3 separate regions of the Homo sapiens genome follow, and regions 2 and 3 are each linked to region 1. The links are contacts of gene promoters, found by promoter capture Hi-C in human tissues and cell types (Jung and others, 2019). All regions are on one chromosome and are shown on one strand. The core of a region is centred on a gene start or on the middle of the fragment in contact, and the rest is flanking DNA. Distances in the headings are between cores, read along the strand shown.

Evidence for each region. Contacts are between HindIII fragments. The study calls those that stand out against the background at their distance.
Region 2: a contact is called between a fragment that was not itself captured here and the fragment with the promoter of SCMH1 in region 1, in 1 of the 25 tissues and cell types used here (stomach).
Region 3: a contact is called between a fragment that was not itself captured here and the fragment with the promoter of SCMH1 in region 1, in 2 of the 25 tissues and cell types used here (aorta and lymphoblastoid cells).

Annotation. Positions count from the first base shown.
Region 1 is chr1:41,240,380-41,243,997 of GRCh38, reverse strand. It overlaps SCMH1 (Scm polycomb group protein homolog 1), which reads left to right and starts at 1,692. Exons shown (of 16, transcript NM_001394311.1): 1 at 1,692-1,939. It overlaps SCMH1-DT (SCMH1 divergent transcript), which reads right to left and starts at 1,640. Exons shown (of 3, transcript NR_186015.1): 1 at 1,292-1,640. RefSeq lists silencers at 1,382-1,781, 1,822-2,371, 2,472-2,631 and an enhancer at 2,952-3,131. The HindIII fragment of the contact is 24,810 bases long and covers 1-3,618 here.
Region 2 is chr1:41,406,575-41,410,002 of GRCh38, reverse strand. No RefSeq gene overlaps it. Among named protein-coding and RNA genes, the nearest start is that of FOXO6-AS1, 33 kb to the right of the region's middle. The HindIII fragment of the contact is 5,293 bases long and covers 1-3,428 here.
Region 3 is chr1:41,477,560-41,480,866 of GRCh38, reverse strand. EDN2 (endothelin 2) reads left to right here. Exons shown (of 5, transcript NM_001956.5): 5 at 1,365-2,092. The coding sequence ends at 1,458. Among named protein-coding and RNA genes, the nearest start is that of EDN2, 5.5 kb to the left of the region's middle. RefSeq lists an enhancer at 3,229-3,307. The HindIII fragment of the contact is 4,199 bases long and covers 1-3,307 here.

The DNA.
Region 1 (3,618 bases), core at 443-2,942:
TCTCTGACTGGTTGAAGAAGGGAAATCAGAGATATTTAAAGAATGAGAGGGAGTGACATGAGAAAGGTTCTCTGTTGATGAGATAAAAGGGATCACGTGGCAAGGACCTGAGAGTGGTCCCCAACAGAGAGCTGGCAAAACAGTGTAGCTGTGGGATCCTAGTCCTACAGGGACATGAATTCTGCCAACAGCCCGAAGGAGCCTGGGGCAGACCTTTCCCTCGTGGAGGTGCTAGACATCTTGATTTCAGCCTATGACACCACGAGCAGAAAACCCAGCCACACCATGCCAGTTTTCCGACCTACACAACTGTGAGTAAATCAATGGGTGTTGCTTTAAGCTGCAAAATTTGTGCCAATTTGTTATGCAGGAATAGAAAACTAATATGAGCACTTACAACACTGTGCTCTCATTAGCTATTGACATAATAGTTTCCCCAAATATGGGCTCCTTAGATTTAGGCTCTAATTATCCTTGTAACCTCAGGGCTCTTCATGAGACAGGTACTCCCCAAAACGCCATGGAATGAAAGTTTAAATTAGACAACAGGGATGCAGATCAGAACCTGGATAGATTCTGACCATTTCCATTTCTCAAGAATGGGCAGACGGATACTGACACCAATACCAGGATACAAGGAGGCGGCCCCCCTTCAGTCCAAAGCTCTAAGACCTATTCTAGAGGCAAGGCAAGTAATCCAGGCTCAGCTGCCCCATCTGCTGCTCCAGCCTTGCTTAAGTGGACTTCCCTCCAAGGAACATTGTTCACAGAAGGATCATTAACAAGACATTCCTGTGTGACCTGAGGATTGCCATGTTCTAAATGATGCCCACACCCACTCCACATCCAGCTCAGCAGAGGTCTCGGGATTTATATTGCACTGTATTTTCAAGCAGCCAAAACAGAAGTCAAGACGTCAGTTTCCTAAGCTGCTAAAATGATGTGGTGGTTAAACCAATTGTGTGCCAGGCGCAGTGGCTCACGCCTGTAGTCCCAGCGCTTTGGGAGGCTGACGCAGGAGGATCACTTGAGCCCAGTAATTTGAGGTTACAGTGAGCTATGATGGCGCCACTGCACTCCGACCTTGGGGACAAAGTGAGGCTCCATCTCTAACAAAACAAAAATAGAATTGTGTAGCCAACATGGCTGGTGGGCCTGGAAGAATGAGCCTGTGCATTGTACCTGGCCCATCACGGGCTCAGTGCGTACTCGTTGAAGGGATCACCACAGGGAGGACCGAGGACGCTGACACTCCCTAGGGCATCCAAGCACCAACTCATCTCTCACCTACCCTCCGGGTGCAGTGCTATCGTGTTGGAGAAGAGGCCCCTGGGTGGCTGTGCGAAGTAACTCGCCCAAGGTCACCACACGGCCAGCCACTAGCCCGGCGGGAGTCGCCCGAGGCGAGGCCCACGTCAGCCGGTCTTGGGGGCCCGACCGGTGGCTCCTCCACCAGCCCCACGCGGCCTCAGAGCGGGCTACTGGCGTCCTCGAGATTCGAACCCGAGTCCTCGGCCTCGTCCCCGCCCTCGCGCCCTCTCAGGCCTCAGTTTTCCCATCTACAGGACGCAGACCGGAGAGCTGGTCCGGGCGCCAACTGGGCCCCCGGACCCGGGTCGGCAGGCCGGCGGGGTACGGCCGGGCCGGGTTCCCGCGCGCCCTCCCTCCTCCAGCGCGCCGCCCCGCCCCCCGCGCGAGCCCAACGGCCGAGGCGCGCGCCACCTCGCAGCGGGAGGCGCGGGGGAGGGGCCGGGGGAGCCCCCGCCCCGCCCCCCGCCTCAGCCGCCACCGCCAGCTCGGTGGAGCCCCCCGCCGCCCGCCCGCCGCTCTCCCGAGCCGCCCGCCCGCCCCCTTCCCGCGTCTCCGCTCCCTCCCTGCGCAGCGGAAACATGGCGGCGGGAAGAGAGTGAGCCGCCCCGCGCCCCCGCCGCGCCCTCAGGTAAGCGCCTCGCGGCCGCCTCCGCCCGCCTAAGAGCTCGTGCCCTGAGGGGCCGCCTGGGGCCAGAAGGCGGTGGCGGGACCTGCGCAGCCGCTGCGCCTGCTCCCCCGGGCCGGGGTCAGCCTGTCCGTCTGTCTGGCCGGCCTGCCAGTCTGTGGTCCGCGCGGGGCTGGGCCCTTTCTCGGCCGTGTCAGCCCGGCCCCGAGCCCGGAGGCCGGCTCTGCATCTGCGGTCGGGCGGGCGGGGCCCACGGTCCGGTCGCGGCCCTGACGCCGCCAGGACTGCCCGGGGGCCCCGGCACGGGAAACCCAAGGCCGGGGGCCCTTTGGAGGGTCGGCGTGGGGGCGGTCCGTATAGGTCGCCGTGTCTGGCCGGCGGGGCCGGGTGGGCCGGGGCAGGCTGGCTGGGGGCCGAGGGCCGGGCGGCGGCGCGACCCCGTCTGCGCGGGTCAGTCGGTCCCCTCCGGCGCCAGAGGTGGGAATGCCTGTGATTCTGGCTGGCCGGGTCCCGGTTCGGGGAAGGCAGAGACAGAGGTCGACGGGGCGGCGTGGCCCCCACCGAGAGCTGGGGCGCCTAGGGCCCGGAGCTGTCAGCAGCGTCCTGGGGGCTGGGCCCCGGCTGGCCGACTCACGTGTGCCGCCTGCCCCAGTGCCCCGCCGGAAACGGGCAGGGAGAGCGGCCCCGCACCGAAGTGAGCCACAGCGGCCCTGGGGGCCAGACACGTGGGCACAGTTGTGTGCCAGCCCGAGAGCATCGAAAGTGGTATCCAGCCGATGGGTGAACCCCGGAATATCTCCTGACTGGAAGAGAATTTAAAAGTCATCTAGGGGCGCTTTCTCCCATCCCATGCCAAAGTGACTTTGAAAATCCCCAAATCCCCCCGATAATTTGACGAGCCCGTTTGGAACCTCTTCCAGTGATCCGAAGCGAATCTCTTTAAAGGAAACCCATTCTGTTCCTGGACACATTTGGTTATAAGTTGAAAGAAACAGCTGGCTCCCATCCTTCCTAGTTCTTTTCCCTTATGGGAAGCTGTTAAGATATCTGAAGATAGTAATCATGTCCCCTGAGTCTTCACTTCCACTTTCTTCAGTTGTCTCTCATCTGCTGTGGTTCTCTAAACTGTCCTCTGGATGAGCTTTAGTTTCCCCCATCCCCTTAAAGGAGAGTTTCTTAAAAGTGATCCTGGAGACAAAACGTAGTAAGTTTCTCTAAGAAACAGCCCCAAGGATTGACCTGCTTAAATCAAAAGTACTCTAGATTCCCTTCCTCATTTCTGTACTGTATTTTGAACTTAAAAAAAAAAAAAAAAGAAAACATTTAGTAGTGTTTGTTCAAACAAACTAAAAGACATCTTATTTTGTGGAAATTTGGGGGTTTCCTTCCTTTTAAAAAATGTCTATAAACACTTTATCAAATGTTGCTAACTAATGTACATCAAAATGTTTTGTTGAAGTGTAATGTGCCAGGCAAATAGAATAGCTCTTTTTTTTTTTTTAAACTCTGAAAAGGATTGAGACCTAGTTTAGTGCCAAACTGCAATTTTAATATTTGGTTGCAGAGGGAAATGCTTTATTACATTGAACTCTTTGCTCTAGTTCTAACTGCCAGCAGGAGGCCCAAAATTACTATGAAAGAGAACACTTTTTGTTGCTTACTTACCAACCTCCTAAACTCTT
Region 2 (3,428 bases), core at 762-3,261, 170 kb before region 1:
ACCCACTGGAGGCAGGAACACCAGATAACCGAGTTCATGGAGCCATGTGGAAAGGAAGGGTTATGATTCCGGACTTAGATCTGGGAGTGCCTTTCCCATGGGGAGCGTGGCGTGAGCGCAGGGGCTCTGCATACCCTCCCATTCTCTGCTGTACTCCAGGTATGAGAGGTGCAGGGATAAGAGATGGAAGGGAAGGGGTTGTTCAATTGGGTGAAATGTTCATCAACAGAGCAATCCTACAGGCAGGTGACCCCATGCATGGGCAGGTAACTCCACAAGGGAGGAGAAAGGGGTAGACTCTGGACCTATGGGTTCTACATGAAGGAAACACCCCTTCCCACACACTCCCACCAGAGGCCAAATGCCTGGTGTAAGGGAAAAAGGGAAGAGTACCACTGTACGGGTGGGGATGCAGGAATAGCTCAGGCCCCTTACGGATGGGGGCAGGAGGGGGAGCAGTGAACTAAGACATGTGGATTCAAGTCCCTCCACTATTAGCTGCATGTCAAGGAACAGCTCAACTAACCCCTCTGGGTTTCAGCTCCAGAATCTATAAAATGGAAGTATTTCTTACATCATGGTGCTGGAGGGAAGATAAAGTAATATAGATGTAGGAACTTGGTAAATGCCAAAGTCCTGCACAAGAGAACATGATCTTCATTCATTCATTCATTCAACAAATATCTACTGGTCACCTACTGCATGCCAGGCCATGCTCTAGGAACTGGGGATAGGGTGGCTAACACAGCAAAGCCCCTGTTCTCACGGAGAAAGAAAAATGAATGAGAATGTATTAAGTAATGGATCAGTCAGATGGGCAATGTTTTTGATCAGTGGTGTAAAGCCATGAAAAATTGTTTCTCGCTCACATTGCATGCCCTTTGGGGGTTCCCCGCAGGGGAGTCTGCTCTATGTTGTCTTCATTTAAGGGCCCAGGCTGAAGGAGGCTCCATCCCCAACTTCCACAACAGGGAACAAGGCAAATGGCCCAATCGTTCCAAAAGCCCCATCCGAAGCCCTGGAAATGATACAGGACACGTCTGTCCTATTTCACTTTCCATCACAAGTCACACTCATCTCTGAGGGGAGGGAAAGTACAGTCCTACTCATACCCAGAAGATAGGGAGCAGGACGTATTTGGCAGAAAGCACTAACGCCCACCATGGATAGATTCATGAATCAGTACCAGGAAGACAAATAAAATAGCGTAAGGAGAGGGAGGGCTGATACTTATTGAGATGAGGGCCTGGCTGAGTCCCCCTGGGAAGGTGACATTGGAGCAGATATGTAAATAAAGTCAGGGAGCAATCCTGTAAGAAGAGCCTGGAAGGAGGAGCAAGTGCCCTGGGGCGGGCGGAGAGTAAGGAGATCAGTAGGCTGGAGCAATGGGCCAGTGGGAAGGACAGGAGAAAGAGGCATTTGAAGGGGAGATCATGAGGGCACGTGGTTGGCCACAGTGGGGCTGGGCTTTCCACGAGTGAAATAGGATTCGTCTGTTGTCACAGGGTGGCTGGGGGAAGCAGCACTGTTCGTGAATAAATGCACAACTGCTACGCCCCTCACTAGTTGTGTGACCTTGGGCACATCACTTAACCTCTGTGAGCCTCAGCTTCCTCACCTGTAAGTCGGGGGTTATAAGAGGGGCCACCTCCCAGGGTTATTGAGATGATAAAATACTTAGAACAGGACCTGCCATTTCATGAGTACCATAAAAACATTCGCTATTACTACTATCACTTTCCCCCTCTGCCTGGGGACGTCCTTCCCTTCTCCTCTTTCCTCTCTCCCGGTTACCAGTTACTGGTAACCAGCCTCCATCTCTAAGATTCAGTTTTGGATCTTATCTTCCCTGTCTTGCGTCTCAGAGCCCGAGAGACCTGAGTCCCTCTCCATCTCTCAGTCCCTGTGATCCTCCTCAAGCCTCAGCTTCTGCATCTGCTAAATGGGATCTATCCCCCCACCCCCCACCGCCGCCGACCTGACTGGGCTTTGAGGAGGCCGAGCTCACAGTTGAGCTCAGCTGGGTGCTCCCCGTGTGGCTGCTGGGTGGATTCCTGGCTGCCTGGGCTCCCCTCCCCCACAGGAGGCTGGGGAAACTGGGGGCCCCTCCTCTACACTCACCCACCCCAGCGCTGGCAGCCAAGCGCTCCTGTTGGCATGAGCTGGCGCCTCACCCAGGAGGGGAGAGCAGCTGCGGGGATGGTGGGAGAATTCCTCCCGCTGCTGGATTTGTCAAACAATTGATTAAAGACAATGCAATTAATTATTCCTTGATGAAATAGTGGAAATTACCCAAGAAAATGAAGATTTCAGCAGCAGAACATTAAACCCCTCTAATTATGTCATTTCTGAAAAAGGGAGAGGGGGATAAAATGGATGGAAATGGTGGGACAGAGGGAGGAAAAGAAGTTTTAAAATAGATGGGTTGACCCTGGGGGCTCCATGCAGGGTGAACATGAGAAGGATGGATGGAGCCACAACCCTGGATCTCCACCATACTGTTCACAAGGAAAGTCTGCCATGACAGAGCTCTTTCAGGGGACTAGAAGATGCCTGGAAAGCCAGACATTGGGATACTTGCCTGGGGTGCATCAGTTCATTATCCTCACTACTGAATCCCAGTGCCTTGTTCCTTTCTGTGAGACAACAGGGCTCAGAGAGGTGGCATGATTTGCCCACGGAGGTACAACTCTAACCAGTAGAGACAGGACTTGAACTCAGATCTAACTCCAGGAATTGTGCTTTTAAACCCCACCTGGTTGGAGTCCACAGCAGTAGGCACTGCGGAAGCCCTTGGCAGAAGCTGCTCTGACAGCCAGCTCCCCAAGGGTCTCAGTGGCCCACTGAACCTCAGGGCTGGGCATGGGGCGTAGGTGACTGCCAGGTGCTGACATCTCTGCCAATGCCGACGGAGCCTGAGGCCCCCTGGGAAGGGATCTTTCTAGCCCTCTGTCCTCTATGATTTTTCTGGATGTGCTTTTGCAAGGCAGGGAGGGGTGGCGAGTGGGATCTGTCCAAGACTTGGCCCAGCCATCTCTCCCAGGGAGCCCCAGATACTCCGCTGAGCCCAGGAGAAGAGCTGAAGGCCTAGATTCTAACCCGCCTCTGCCAGGAGTATAGCTGCAGCATCGCCTTAGGAAGTTCACTTGCTTTCCTGGGCCTCAATCTCCCTATCTGTAACAGAGGCTATTGGACCATTAGATATATTGGTCCATTTGTGAATACGGGACCCAGCCTGCCCCAACTTCGAAGGTGAACTCAGGTCCAAGAAGCCAAAATCAGCTCTAGAGTGGGCAGGGGGAGAAGAGGAAAAAGGGAGAGCCACCTAGGGCCAGTGGAGGAGTGGCTGGGGGATTTGGGGGCTGGATGGAGGAGCAGGGAGGGAGCCGAAAGGAGCCCTGTGGGGGGCAGTGGAAGGGGAGAGGCAG
Region 3 (3,307 bases), core at 523-3,022, 240 kb before region 1:
TGGACTTTTTAGAGGGTTTGAAGGCTCATGACTGGGAAGGACCACAGTTGTTCGTTCAGGCTGTGCTGAATGGAGCATCTCACACATGCTGGGGTCCAGAGGGGCCAACTGCCCAGCCTGCTCCCTCTCTGCTGCCCAGATTGCATCTCCTCCCTGGTGCCTCAGTGTGAGTCAGACCTGGCCCCCAGGAGGTGCCCACGAATGCTTGTTCAACCAAACCAACTCAAGAACAGACACTTGCACCTGCCGGGCAGCAGAGTGGCTGTAGGGGCAGCCTCTGGGGCAGACTGCTTGATCTGAACCCCAGCCCAGCCTGGTACAAGCTTTGTGACCTTGGGTTTGCCCCTCAACTTCACTGTGCCTCTAGTTCCTATGATTTGAACAGGAGAAACAGGGAAATTGTGCCATCCATCCCCGCCTGGGGTTGCTGTGAGGTCAGATGAGTGGACGCACATGAAGTGTGTAGACCAGGGTCTGTGCCCGTGGGAGCTGTGGAGGGGTTTGCCATTCCCACTTCTGTCACTGAGGGTTCCTCACAGCTGGCCAGGTCCCAGGGCCCAGCTCAGCCCTTCAGAGATTCTCACCTTTTGGGGGCGGCAGAAAAACAGGAGAAAAGGCAGGATGGTGGGATGGACGGGACCCAACATATACTTAGGAACTTTCTGAGAATGAAAAATATGAGTACAAGACTTTTCAAAAGCGCACACTTCATAGTGTGCAGAGCTGGCTCGGCCAACCTTGTACTCATTCTCAGCAGTTCAGGCCTGTTTTTGTTTTACAAGCTAAGAAAGGGGATCAGAGAGGCTGAGATTGTTGCCCAAGTTTCCTTAGCTAGGAACTGAAGCCAGCCTCCTGGCTCCCAGTTTAGAGTTCTTTGAGCCAGGATGTGGCCACCCAGCCAGGTTCAAAGGGCAGCGGGGTGCCCTGTTTTCTGGGCTGGACTACCTTGAACTGGACCTCGAAGAATGAGTAGAATTGTAGCAGGTGGCTTCTGGGTGAGGGGAATACACACAGCCTGGAGGGAAGAGCAGGAGCAAAGGTGTGGAAAGCTGTGGAAAGAAGTGGGAAGGCAGATGACGGGAGACCCACAGGGCTGTGCTTGGCTGTCCACTCATTCTGGCAGCATTTGATGTTGAACCTTAGCTCTGTCAAAGCCCCCATGTGCAGAGAAGCTTCAACGCCTGGGCTGGCCTGCGCTGGTTGTGCAGACCTTGTTTTCAGGCTGTGGTCACTGTCTGACCCCAGGGCCGCTGTGACCCCAGGATCTGGGCAAGGGCTGTAGCCCCATTGCCCCTGCTCTCATGGGGAGCTCTTGGACAGTCCATATCTCCTGAGATGCTAAGTTGACCCTTCTTGATTCCCAGGGACATTTCCACAGTCAAGAGCCTCTTTGCCAAGCGACAACAGGAGGCCATGCGGGAGCCTCGGTCCACACATTCCAGGTGGAGGAAGAGATAGTGTCGTGAGCTGGAGGAACATTGGGAAGGAAGCCCGCGGGGAGAGAGGAGGAGAGAAGTGGCCAGGGCTTGTGGACTCTCTGCCTGCTTCCTGGACCGGGGCCTTGGTCCCAGACAGCTGGACCCATTTGCCAGGATTGGCACAAGCTCCCTGGTGAGGGAGCCTCGTCCAAGGCAGTTCTGTGTCCTCGCACTGCCCAGGGAAGCCCTCGGCCTCCAGACTGCGGAGCAGCCTCCAGTGCTGGCTGCTGGCCCACAGCTCTGCTGGAAGAACTGCATGGGGAGTACATTCATCTGGAGGCTGCGTCCTGAGGAGTGTCCTGTCTGCTGGGCTACAAACCAGGAGCAACCGTGCAGCCACGAACACGCATGCCTCAGCCAGCCCTGGAGGCTGGATGGCTCCCCTGAGGCTGGCATCCTGGCTGGCTGTGTCCTCTCCAGCTTTCCCTCCCCAGAGTTCTTGCACCCTCATTCCCTCGGGACCCTCCCAGTGAGAAGGGCCTGCTCTGCTTTTCCTGTCTGTATATAACTTATTTGCCCTAAGAACTTTGAGAATCCCAATTATTTATTTTAATGTATTTTTTAGACCCTCTATTTACCTGCGAACTTGTGTTTATAATAAATGAGGAAACATACTCTGGTTTTTTGTCTTGGCCAAGGCAGGGTGTTGGAGGCTTCTCTCAAGAAGGGGCCGCTTGGAAGTTGGAGGACACAAGAAGGAAAGGGCTGGGGCAGGTGGCTAGAGCGCTGGGTTCCACTCCCACCCTTGCTGGGTGTCTCTGGCTGCTAGCCTGCCCTCTCTGGGCTTTTGTCTGTCATGTGCCTCGACAGCCACCTGCAGCTGTGACGTCAGGATTCCAGGAGCTATGTTCTCATCAGGCCAGTAATCAACGGCCATCCCTTTTCCAGGAGCGTGTGTGGAAGAAGCCAAGACACGAGGGTGGAGGGACTCATCGCCCCAGCGGCTCTGTCCCAGCAGAGGCTGACAGTAAGGCTCAGAGCAAAGCTGTCCAGCGAGGGAGAAGACCAGGTGAACCCCAAGGCTGTGGGTGCCCCACTGGTCAGTGAGGGGTGCTGTGATGGAGCCACAGCTTGGCCCTGGCTTGGCCCCTCACCTTGGGCTTTGGACATGATAAATACTTGCTGATTGAATTCATGAGTCACCACTGCAGTATGATGTTGAACAAATCTCTTTCAGTTTCTGAACCTCAGTTTTCTTCATCTAGAAAATGGGAAGCAATTGTCCCCACGTCGCAGAGTTGCTGTGGGCACTAAGCAGAGAAGTGATGGTACCAGGCTCAGCCCAAGGCCTGACAAGAGGCAGAGGCTGCTTGTGGGGCTGGCAATGGTGATTATGGAATGAGTGGGACGGGGACAGAACTAAGGGGCCTGATGGGGGGGCAAGATGGGGGCTAGCTGGGGTGGAGGTGGGTGGTCATAGGAAGAGTCTGGACAAAGGTGCTACTCTTGTGGCCTCAAAAGATATGCAAAATAAATAGAAAGACTCAAAAGAGGCCAGGGGTGGCAACTCACGACTATAATCCCAGCACTTTAAGAGGCCAAGGTGGGAGGATGACTTGACTCCAGCAGTTCAAGACCAGCCTGGGCAATATAGGGAGACCCTGTATCTACAAAAAAAAAAAAATGTTTTTAATTAGCTGGGTGAGGTGGTGCACACCTGTGGTCCCAGCTACTCAGGAGGCTGAGGCCAGAGGATTGCTTGAGCCCAGGAGCTCGAGGCTACAGTGAACTATGGTCGTGCCACTGCACTGCAGCCTGGGCACCACAGGGAGGACCTGGCTTAAAAGAAAAAGAAAAAGAAACACTCAAATGACTTGAATACATAGAAA